Linked DNA regions of Homo sapiens: regions 1 and 3 are each linked to region 2. The links are contacts of gene promoters, found by promoter capture Hi-C in human tissues and cell types (Jung and others, 2019). All regions are on one chromosome and are shown on one strand. Each heading gives the region's core, a stretch centred on a gene start or on the middle of the fragment in contact. The rest is flanking DNA. Distances are from core to core; before and after follow the strand shown.

Region 1 (3,321 bases), core at 64-2,563, 410 kb after region 2:
TTGGTTCCTAGGGTCACTCGAAGGGGGCTGCTCTATTATCATAGTAACCAGGCCTTGAACTTGCCTGTTTCTCACCTTCCGGAGGAAGGTCCAGGCCCTGTAACCATAGCAACTGCCCCTCAGCAGAGCATCTCCTCTAAATAAAAACACCTGGTTAGTTTGGTGCATGGGCCTCCCACGATGGGAAGGGGAAGACGGTTACCATGGTAATGCCAACTAGGTGGCTATGGGGGAGGGGCTGGGGAAGAGGTGCTTCTCTTAGAGATCAGTGTCCTTGGGGCTGGGGTCCTTTCTACCTGAATGCTAGGTGGGGGGGAGGTTGCCATAGTAATCAATGAGGATAGGAGCAGAAGGACCACCACGGACACTTAGGTTACCTTAGCAACCTTCTCCTGGTGCAGAGTCCTAAGAGGTTTGGGGCTCCATAACCACAAAGGTGGAAGCGAGGGGAAGGCTGCTCCCCACCACCTCGCCCCCACCGCTGGGGAAGGGTTACCATGACAACCAACCTGGCCGGCAATCAGAGAGGATGGGGCCACTGCTGGTCGCCCTTTCTCTCAGAGTAAAAGTAATTGTCCAGGAGAGTGGTGTTTGGGTGTGGAAGGGGTAAGGCTCTTTCTCTGGGGCGAAGTGGGAGGAGGGGGGCAGAAAGCGGCCCCTTCCTCAGTCTCACTCCAGCGAGGGGGACCGTCGCGCGGGGCCTGGGTCTCCCTCGCCCTCCTCGGGGCGCGATCTCCCACCCGCCGGCCCCCGCGCGGGCACGCTACCCTTCGGTGTAGACCCGGGTGGGCGAGGCTCGCGCTCGCCGCCGGCCCCCCTTCCTACTGTCCCCCGCCGGGCGCGCGCGCGGTGGTTGCGGCGGGGGAGGGGGGGGGGTGTTGGCGCGGCCGCGCAGGCGCGCGAGGCACAGCGGGCGCGCAGGCCGGCCCCGGGGCCTCCATGATGGAGGAGCGAGCGGCCGCCGCGGTCGCCGCCGCCGCCTCCTCCTGCCGTCCGCTCGGCTCAGGCGCGGGCCCTGGCCCCACTGGGGCGGCCCCGGTCTCCGCCCCTGCCCCCGGGCCGGGCCCGGCAGGTAAGGGAGGCGGCGGCGGAGGCAGCCCCGGGCCCACGGCGGGCCCGGAGCCCCTGAGCCTGCCGGGGATCCTGCACTTTATCCAGCACGAGTGGGCGCGCTTCGAAGCCGAGAAAGCCCGCTGGGAGGCCGAGCGCGCCGAGTTACAGGTGAGCGCTGTCCCGGGACCCCCGACCCCCAACCCGGCCCGGCCCGGCCCGGCCTCACCCGCTGCCGCCGCCGCCGCCATCTTGGAGCAATGGCCGCCGGGACGGCCGGCGGGGGGGCGGGAGGGGACCGCGACGGTCCCGGAGGGCGAGTGAGGGGCCGTCCGAGGGGTGTCCTGAGGGCACTCCGGGGTGGGACGGGACCGGGACGGCCCGAGGTGGGAGTGGAGGGACCGGGGGTGGGAGGGATCACCGGGACCGGCCGAGAGAAAGGGGCGGAGGGACCACAACCAGCTGGGAGTGGGACTGGGACTGGGACTGAGCACGCTGGCCGCGGGGCTCCTGAGAGAGGCGACTCGAGCCCTGGAGGGGAGGCTAAGAGAACTCGGGAAAGGGTGTGGAGAGGAGCTGGAGGGGTCTGGGAGACCTGAGTGGTCTCCTGTGGGAGTAAGCAGAAGCTTGCCGGGCGCCGAGGGACTCCCGACCCCGACCCCGACCATGGCCCTAGCCAGGTGCAGGTTGGAGGTGGGAGCGTCCAAGGGGGGAACTTGGGACCCGCTGGGAAAGAGCGGGTCCAGATGGGGAACCGGGAGGATTTAGGGAGAGGAAGTCGGGAACCTGGGATCGGTGTGTTTCGGGGCGACTGGACGGTGGGCACGGAAGGAGGGCTGTGTAAGGACCCGAGGGGTGGGAGGAGGGTTTCAAGGGGTCCAGGATGAAGGTGTGTGCCTTCCCCTCTGAGGAGAAACTTTGGGGATCCCGGGCATGTGTGGCTGCACAGTGCAGGGAAGGGTTCTTTGGAGTGGAAGTGTGGACAGAGCAGGGAATGTACCCTAGGAGCCTGGATGGGAGAGCTTAAGAGTGGAAGTTCCACTTTGGGGGTGTGCAGGAGTGGGCGCGATGGCACTGAGATGGCACGTGTGTTGTAGGATGTAGGTAGAGAGCCCTGAACTGGAGTGTGGGGTGTTGGGCATGTCCAGTATGGAGGTGAGGGTCCTGGGATGGTGCCAATGAGGACGAGTTAGGGGTTACCCTGGGGTGATGCTTTAGGGGGGAGAATTTTGTAGAGCCCGAAGGCAACATGAGGAGGCATCTCGGAACGGGGGTAGACTGGGGTTGGGGGGAAGGGGATATGTTTGTGGAAGTCTTGGGAAAAGACCCCGTGGTTTTTGGGGTAGCTTGGGACAGGGATGTTGAATGGAAGAGTCTGAGGAGTTGGGCTAGGGTTTGTGACCTCGTGGAGCGTCAGGTCCATTGGCAGTGACTGGAGGACCATGGAGATGTCCGGATTTGAAGGGATCAGGAATGGCCCGCTGGAAGTCTGAAGATTCTTGGACTGGGTTATTATTAGCAGAAATTGTCATTACCTGCTTGTAGCAGCCCACCTTTCCCCTTCCGATTTGCCGTTTGCTATCTAGTAGGAAGCTGGTACCCAAATAAATAGCTGATGAGAATTGTGTCGGTAGGGATGGGGTGCGGTGGCTCACGCCTGTAATCCCAACACTTGGGGAGGTTGAGGTGGGAGAATCCCTTGAGCCCAGGAGTTCGAGGCCAGCCTGGCCAACATAGCAAGACCTCATCTCTACAAAAAAGTACAAAAATTAGCCGGGTGTGGTGACATGCGCCTGTAGTCCCAGCTACTCAGGAGGCTGAGGTGGGAGGATTGCTTAAACCCCGGAGGTTGAGGCTGCGGTGAGCCATGATTGCACCACTGCACTCCAGCCTGGGCAAAAGAGTGAGATCCTGTCTCAAAAAAAAGCATTTTGTTCATAGGATGAGTAAAGACCCTCCAGTAACTCTCCCCCTGCCCTCACTTGTGGTGGCTGAGGCTTGGGGCTGGGATGGGAGCAGAATCCTTATGTAACTGCTCTCACTTCTGTCCCACTCTCTACTTCCGAAGCTCTTTCCCAGCATACATCTCATCAGATCTTCACAATGCCCTGTGATGTAGGCAGAGGCAGTGTCATTACCTCACTCAGCAATAACGGTACCAGCTGCAATTTAGTGAGCACATACCATGTCTGGGGCGCTGTATCAAGTACTGTAGATACGAGCTGTCATTTAATTCTTGCAGCATTCTGGGAGGATAAAGGATATTCCCCC
Region 2 (3,512 bases), core at 558-3,057:
TTTGTGGGGCTGAGGCAGGTGGACCACGAGGTCAAGAGATAAATACCATCCTGGCCAACATGGTGGAACCCCGTCTCTACTAAAAATACAAAAATTAGCTGGGTGTGGTGGCACACACCTGTAGTCCCAGCTACTTGGGAGGCTGAGGCAGGAAAATCTCTTGAACCTGGGACGTGGAGGTTGCAGTGAGCTGAGATTGTGCCACTCCAGCCTGGACACAGCAAGACTCCATCTCAAAAAAAAAAAAAAAAAGGGTATGGGGCCGGGCATGGTGGCTCACGCCTGTAATCCCAGCACTTTGGGAGGCTGAGGCGGGTGGATCACCTGAGGTCAGGAGTTCGAGACCAGCCTGGCCAACATGGTGAAACCCCGTCTCTACTAAAAATACAAAAAAAAATTAGCCAGGGGTGCTACTTGGGAGGATGAGGCAGGAGAATTGCTTGAACCCAGGAGGTGGAGGCTGTAGTGAGCCGAGATCATGCCATTGCACTCCAGCCTGAGCGACAAGAAAAAATTCCATCTCACACACACAAAAAAAAAAGTTTGGGACAGAGCCTACAAAAGTTTGCATTTCTCATTGTCTTGAAAAATCCCATCTGGAATCACTGGGCCCACATTCCCTCACAGCAACAGCTGGCTGACACTAAGCTGTGGCAGCCTCCCTTTAGATGGGACAAGCACCCGCCCCACCCCTTCAAGAAGTGCTTGCTCTTATCCTTTTCAATCGTCATTGCCTGACCCCTCCAAGGCCCCAGGGTTTCTGACCTCTGCCCCCACGTTACACATACCTTTTTGACCATCGTTGTCTCAGAAGAATCAAGTTTTGCTCTCTTGGTGTCGGGCCCATCTTCTACTCCTTGGCTAACTTTGGCAACTTTAGTTTTCTCCCTAGAGGGTGACAAGGGGAGAGAATGTAATTTTACCCTAGGAATCATGTTATTGGAATCAAAAAAAGCCTCTCCAGGTCACAGATCGGGATGGTGGTTAAGGGCAAAAGCTTTGGAGTCAGATCTCGGTTCAAATCGAGCTCTGCCATTGATAACATGATGAGTCTGGTACACTGTTGGGCACTCAGGAAATTATTGTGGGAAAAACAGAGCAGCGTAAGTTGCTCAGCACACTGCTGGGCACACAGCTGCTCTCAATAAATCAAAGTGATTACTTTGTAAACACTCTACTTGAATCATGAAATAAATAGCCAAACTTGGCTGGGTGCAGTGGCTCACGCCTGTAATCCCAGCACTGTGGGAGGCCAAGGCGGGCGTGTCACCTGAGGTCAAGGGTTTGAGACCATCCTGGCCAACATAGCAAAACCCCGTCTCTACTAAAAATACAAAAAACTAGCCGGGCGTGGTGGTGGGCGCCTGTAATCCCAGCTACTTGGGAGGCTGAGGCAGGAGAATTGGTTGACCCCAGGAGGAGGAGGTTGCAATGAGCTGAGATCACGCCACTGTACTCCAGCCTGGGCAACTGAGTGAAAGTCTGTCTCAGAAAAAAAAAAAAAAAAAAAAAAAAAAAAAAGCCAAACTTAATTCTGCCCCTCTGCTGTGGGCAGCTTATGTTAAAATAATCTGGATTGCTTCCCACTACTATAACTTCTTTATAATATACCCAAAGAAGCCAGGCATGGTGGCTGTAATCCTAGTACTTTGTGAAGCTGAGGTGGGTGGACCACCTGAGGTCAGGAGTTCAAGACCAGCATAGCCAACATAGTGAAACCCCGTCTCTGCTAAAAATACAAAAATTTGCCGGGCATGGTGGCGGGTGCCTGCAGTCCCAGCTACTCAGGAAGCTGAAGCAGGAGAACCACTTGAATCCAGGAGGTGGAGGTTGCAGTGAGCCAAGATCGTGCCATGGCACTCCAGCCTGGGTGACAAAAGCAAAACTCCGTCTCAAAAATAATAATAATAGCCGGGTGCGGTGGCTCACGCCTGTGTAATCCCAGCACTTTGGGAGGCCGAGGTGGGTGGATCACCTGAGGTCCGGAGTTCAAGACCAGCCTGACCAACATGGAAAAACCCTGTCTCTACTAAAAATACAAAATTAGCCAGGCATGGTGACGCATGCCTGTAATCTCAGCTACTCCGGAGGCTGAGGCAGGAGAATGGCTTGAACCCAGGAGGCAGAGATTGTTCTGAACTGAGATGGTGCCATTGCACTCCAGCCTGGGCAACAACAGCAAAACTCCGTCTCAAAAAATAAAATAATAATAATAATAATATGCCCAAAGAACTAGATTATCCTAAAGCCATAAAACACTAGAGTTAGGAGATGTCTGGAACATGACTGTCCTTCCCCCATCTTGATTTTACAGGCAAGAAACTTGGAGACCAGAGAAATTTCAGTGACTTGCCTGAGAGGCTGAACAAGAGAAGAGTTCTCAGTCTCTTGGTAGGAAGCTCCTATCTCACAGAGCCTGTCTTTCCCTCTCAATTAGCAAGTTGGAGGGTTTTGGAGGGGGTGGTCAGAAACTGCAGCCAAAATACCTAACTCATATAGTTTTACAATAATGTATCATCTGCCATCTTTCACCTAGAGACTACAAAGTCAAAACACGGCAAGTCCTGTCATGTAAGAATTACCAAGTTCTGCAGCCTCAGTGTTCAAAATGAGAGGATGAGGTCTGTTTGTTCTACCAGAGGAGTCTCTCTGGATATTGGACACCTTTTCCAAGGTAGACTTTGGTTGAATATGCCTCCAGAATCGCCCAACTATTTTGTAATCATTTTACTATCTCTCAACTTGAAAACATGTCAGCAGACCAGGCGCAGTGGATCATGCCTATAATCCCAGCACTTTGGGAGGCCAAGGTGGGAGGATCACTTGAGCCCAGGAGTTCAAGACCAGCTTGAACAACATAGCATAGATCCTGTCTCTACACATAAATAAATACATAATTTAAAAAAAAAAAGTATAAAAAGGAGAAAATGTTATGTTCTCCCCTCCTCTCCCAACACTTACTCTACAAACTCATGCTCTCCTAGATTGGCAAATGTGTATCCATGGTAGCCAAAAACATCTCCTGTAAAGAACTTGATGCTATTTTTGTGACAGATCTGGTCAACTTTAACTATGACATCCCTGGAGCAGCAAGTCAGACACACCTGCAGAAAGAAAGAAATTGGCTGGGTTTGAGTTTTGCAAACTGTGAATCACTGCCCTGATGTCTAAATAAATCTTAATGAACAGTCTCTCTGGGCATGCTCAAAGCATGTTTCAAACTGGTACAACAGGTTCTTTGGGCCCTATGGCTAGAAGACAAAAGAAAAGTTGCAGGTTTCAATGTGTAGAAAATATAAGTTATGAGACCGTCACGTTCTGCAGCCAAAATAAAATGTGTTTAGCTAAAAAGTAAAAGCCATTCAACAAATGTTTTCTGTAATCCACGAACATATACACATTTCATAGTTCTCATAAAAAAAATAACTTAGCAAGTTGTTTCTATACTGCTAAATCTATTAAAATCCAAATAAGCTACAGGGACAAGCAAAACCAGTTTTTTAAATTGACCC
Region 3 (3,514 bases), core at 771-3,270, 320 kb before region 2:
AGACACCGTAGTCATTTTGGCCATCTGTCTACCTCCCGCTATGGAGGTCCACTCAGAAGTCTGACCACCAGCACTGACAGGGAAGACCCAGCCACCAGTTCTCTACCGAGCGTTTATGGGAGTTAGGAGCTCAGCAACTCCTGGCCACCCCTGTCTTCACCCTCTTTCCCAGAAGCCAGGCCCAGGCGTGGGAAGTTGGAGGAAGCCGGATCCTCTCCCTCCCCTGGCCAGCAGGCCTGACGGTGTCCAGCCAGGACTGGCAGTGGGCAGGACCGGTGGCACGAGCAAGGCCCCCTCCCTCCCACTGTCCGCCTCTAGAGAAGGAGCACTCCACACCGACTAACACGCCATCACCCCCTGTTGTGGGGGGGAGCAGGATTGGGGGTGGGTGTAGTGCTGGTGTGCCTTGCAGAGGTGTGTGCTTGCGTGGGGGTATGTGTGTGGGCCCATCGCAGGGTGCATGAGTTTGTGTCTTCAGGAGCCCAGGCCACCTGCCTGGCCCTTTGCAGTTCATTTCTTTCTTTTTTTTTTTTTTTTTTGGAGATGGAGTCTCACTCTGTCACCCAGGCTAGAGTGCGGTGGCATGATCTCAGCTCACTGCAGCCTCCACCTCCCAGGTTCAAGCGATTTCTCCTGCCTCAGCCTCCCAAGTAGCTGGGATTACAGGCGTGTGCCACCTGGCCTGGCTAATTTTTGTATTTTTAGAAGAGACAGGGTTTCGCCATGTTGGCCAGGCTGGTCTCCAACTCCTGACGTCAAGTGATCTGCTCGCCTCAGCCTCCTAAAGTGCTGGGATTACAGGCGTGAGCCACCGCACCCAGCCTGCAAGTCTCTTCTTGACCTGACCCGTCCTCAGCCTGGGGAATTGTGCGGTGCAGCAGTTAAGGGTGTAGAATCTGGAGCCATATTTACCACCTCATGCCTTGGTTTCCCTGTCTGTAAGTGAAGCTCATAATAGCATTTACCTAAATTTATAAAAAACATTAGAACATGCCAGGTGCGGTGGCTCTCACCTGTGCGGTGGCTCTCACCTGTAATCTCAGCGCTTTGGGAGGCCGAGGCAGAAGGATTGCTTAAGCCCGGGAGTTGGAGACTAGCCTAGGTAAAATAGTGAGACCCCGTCTCTTAAAAAAAATGAAGAGAAAAAAAGCCTGGCGTGGTGGTGGTGGGCACCTGTAGTCCCAGCTACTCGGGAGGCCAAGGCAGAAGGATCGCTTGAGCCCAGGAGTTGGAGACCAGCCTGGGTAACATGGTGAGATCCCATCTCCTAAAAAAAAAAAATGGAGGGAAAAAGCCTGGCGTGGTGGTGGCGGGCACCTGTAGTCCCAGCTACTCAGGAGGCTGAGGCAGGAGGATTGCTTGAGCCCAGGAGGTTGAGGCTGCAGTAAGCCAAGATCGTGCCACTGCACTCCAGCCTGGGTGACAGAGTGAGACCCTGTCTCAAATAATAATAATGTGCTGCCGATGCCAGGCACGTGGTCAGGGCTGCCTGTATGTATGGCAGCTGTTGTTATTCTTATTAATGGGTGTCTTTGTGGTTGTTTCTGGCCTCCTTTGTGAGGCTGTGCAGGCACAGTATGTGAATTTGGATCTGACTCCAGCTAAACATTCTTGCCCTCCCCCTAGTTCTGTAAGTCTGTAACTATTTGTAGCTGTTGGCCCTTGTATGGCTGGGAGACTGCGTGCGTGTGTGTGTGTGCGTGTGTGTGTGTGTGTGTTGGGGGGCGGGGGCTGCTTCTGAAACACACAGGAGCGCCCTCCGGTGCTGTCCCCTGCCTCTGGTGCTGAACCCGGAGGCTGGGGAGGAGGCTCGGGCTCCCTGCTCCCCCAGGCCCCTCCCCGGGCCTCCCCCCGCCTCCCGCACCGCCTTCCCTCTGCCCGCCTCCGCCTCCTCCCCCTCTCTCCGGCTCCTCCCCCTCCCTCGCTCCCTCGCCGCCTCCCCCTCCCCCGTGTCCCTCCCCTCTCCTCTTCTCCTCCCTCTATCCCCTCTCCCTCCCCTCCTCCCCGGCTCTCCCTCTCAGTCTCAGGCTTTTCTCTCTCTCAATCTCTCTCTCTCTTTCGGGCGGAGTCGCCCACCACTGCCAGCCCAGCGCTGGGGGGACCTGCTCCAGGCTGTAGCCGCAGGTAAGAGACCCCATTGGTGGGGAGGTGGGGGCGTGGGAAAAGGACGGGGTTACCCCAGGTGCGGAGTGGGGGCGGTTCGGGAAGCCTGGAGCTGGCTTCCCTGGGCTGGTTTATGGAGGTGGGGGGCTGCCTGGCCCAGCACGCGTACCTTCTGTGGGGTGGGAGTGCCACCAGCCGCCCCAACACCTTCAGTCCCTCCTGGTTCTCGGGCGGCTGGGGAGGGGGACCGCCTGGGTACTGGGGGGCGAGGACACCCCGCCCCCACCCCGTCTGGGGCACCCCCCCTCGCGCTCTCTACCTCTGCCCCCGCCTTCCTGTGTCTGGGTCTCATCTTTCTGTCTCTCCACATGTCTCAGGGGTCTCTGTCTAGCAGAGTCTGGCCGCCTCTGGGAGTCCCTGTCTCTCAGTCTCTCACTCCTGTCTCCCTCTCTCTGTGTCTCTGTGCCGGGGTCTGTTCGGAGTCTCTCTGGGGCTCTGTCTCTAAGTCCTGGGTTTCTCTCTCCTTTCCTCTTGCGCCATCTCTGTTTCTCTGTGTCTCTGTGTCTCTGCCTCTCTCCCTTGTCTCAGCTTTCCTGTGTCTCTCTCTGTCTCTGCTTTCTCTGTGTCTCTGTCTCTTCCCATGTCCGCATGTCTCTCTCTCTCTCTCTCTCTCTCCCTCCCTCCCCATCTCCCCCTCGTCTCCATCTCTGTCTCTGGATATCTCAGTCTCTGTTTCTCTCTCTCTTTCCTCTTCTCTGGCTCTCCCTGGGAGCCAGTGCACCCTCCTCCCACACACCTTTGTCTCCGCCCCTGGCAGGGGGGACCTGGAGGAATTAGACCCCCCCACCCGCAGAGTGGGCTCCCCCAGGCCTGGAGTCCTCTAAACTCCTCTCCCCACTTCAGCAGAGCTCCCCTGCTCTCTCCACTCCTCCCAGCCGGCACCCACCCCAGCTCTCCCCTGAGGACCGAGCCCACCTCCCCCTGCCTTGTTTCTGGCGTTCTGAGGCCGGTCCTTCTTGCAGTTTAACCGGTAGCCTCTGTAGTAGAGATGAGACCAGACCTCCCTTCAATCTAACCTCCCCAGTCTTCCTCGTGTAACTGGACCAGTCCTTCCTGCCGTCTCACTTCCATACCTCTTGCTGTTTGTCCAGCTCTTGATTCATTCATTCTTGTTGATAATTACTGAGCGCCTTTCCTGCTCTGGGCAAGCACTAGGTACTGAGTTAGACCGGGCCAGTCCTTCCTGCAGTCTCACTTCCATCCCTTTCCTGGTGTGCCAGCCTCACACTGTCTCAGTGGGGGGTGCTGAGAGGGCCCTGGCCAACACACTGTCTGCCTTCCTTGAGAGAAGGGGGCCCTGGAGAAGGTGGGCAAGAGAGTGAGTGATGGCGAAAAGGTACGAGGCTGTGCC

What was found. Contacts are between HindIII fragments. The study calls those that stand out against the background at their distance.
Region 1: a contact is called between the fragment with the promoter of FKRP here and a fragment that was not itself captured in region 2, in 1 of the 25 tissues and cell types used here (hippocampus).
Region 3: a contact is called between the fragment with the promoter of SLC8A2 here and a fragment that was not itself captured in region 2, in 2 of the 25 tissues and cell types used here (dorsolateral prefrontal cortex and spleen).

What each region holds. Positions count from the first base shown.
Region 1 is chr19:46,744,049-46,747,369 of GRCh38, reverse strand. FKRP (fukutin related protein) reads right to left here and starts at 1,313. Exons shown (of 4, transcript NM_024301.5): 1 at 1,280-1,313. STRN4 (striatin 4) reads left to right here and starts at 920. Exons shown (of 18, transcript NM_013403.3): 1 at 920-1,221. The coding sequence starts at 940. RefSeq lists silencers at 495-544, 585-684, 725-874, 885-934, 1,145-1,374. The HindIII fragment of the contact is 7,098 bases long and covers 1-3,321 here.
Region 2 is chr19:47,152,490-47,156,001 of GRCh38, reverse strand. It overlaps SAE1 (SUMO1 activating enzyme subunit 1), which reads right to left. Exons shown (of 9, transcript NM_005500.3): 4 at 2,962-3,104; 5 at 789-888. Among named protein-coding and RNA genes, the nearest start is that of SAE1, 23 kb to the right of the region's middle. The HindIII fragment of the contact is 5,176 bases long and covers 1-3,512 here.
Region 3 is chr19:47,470,399-47,473,912 of GRCh38, reverse strand. SLC8A2 (solute carrier family 8 member A2) reads left to right here and starts at 2,020. Exons shown (of 10, transcript NM_015063.3): 1 at 2,020-2,124. The HindIII fragment of the contact is 16,110 bases long and covers 1-3,514 here.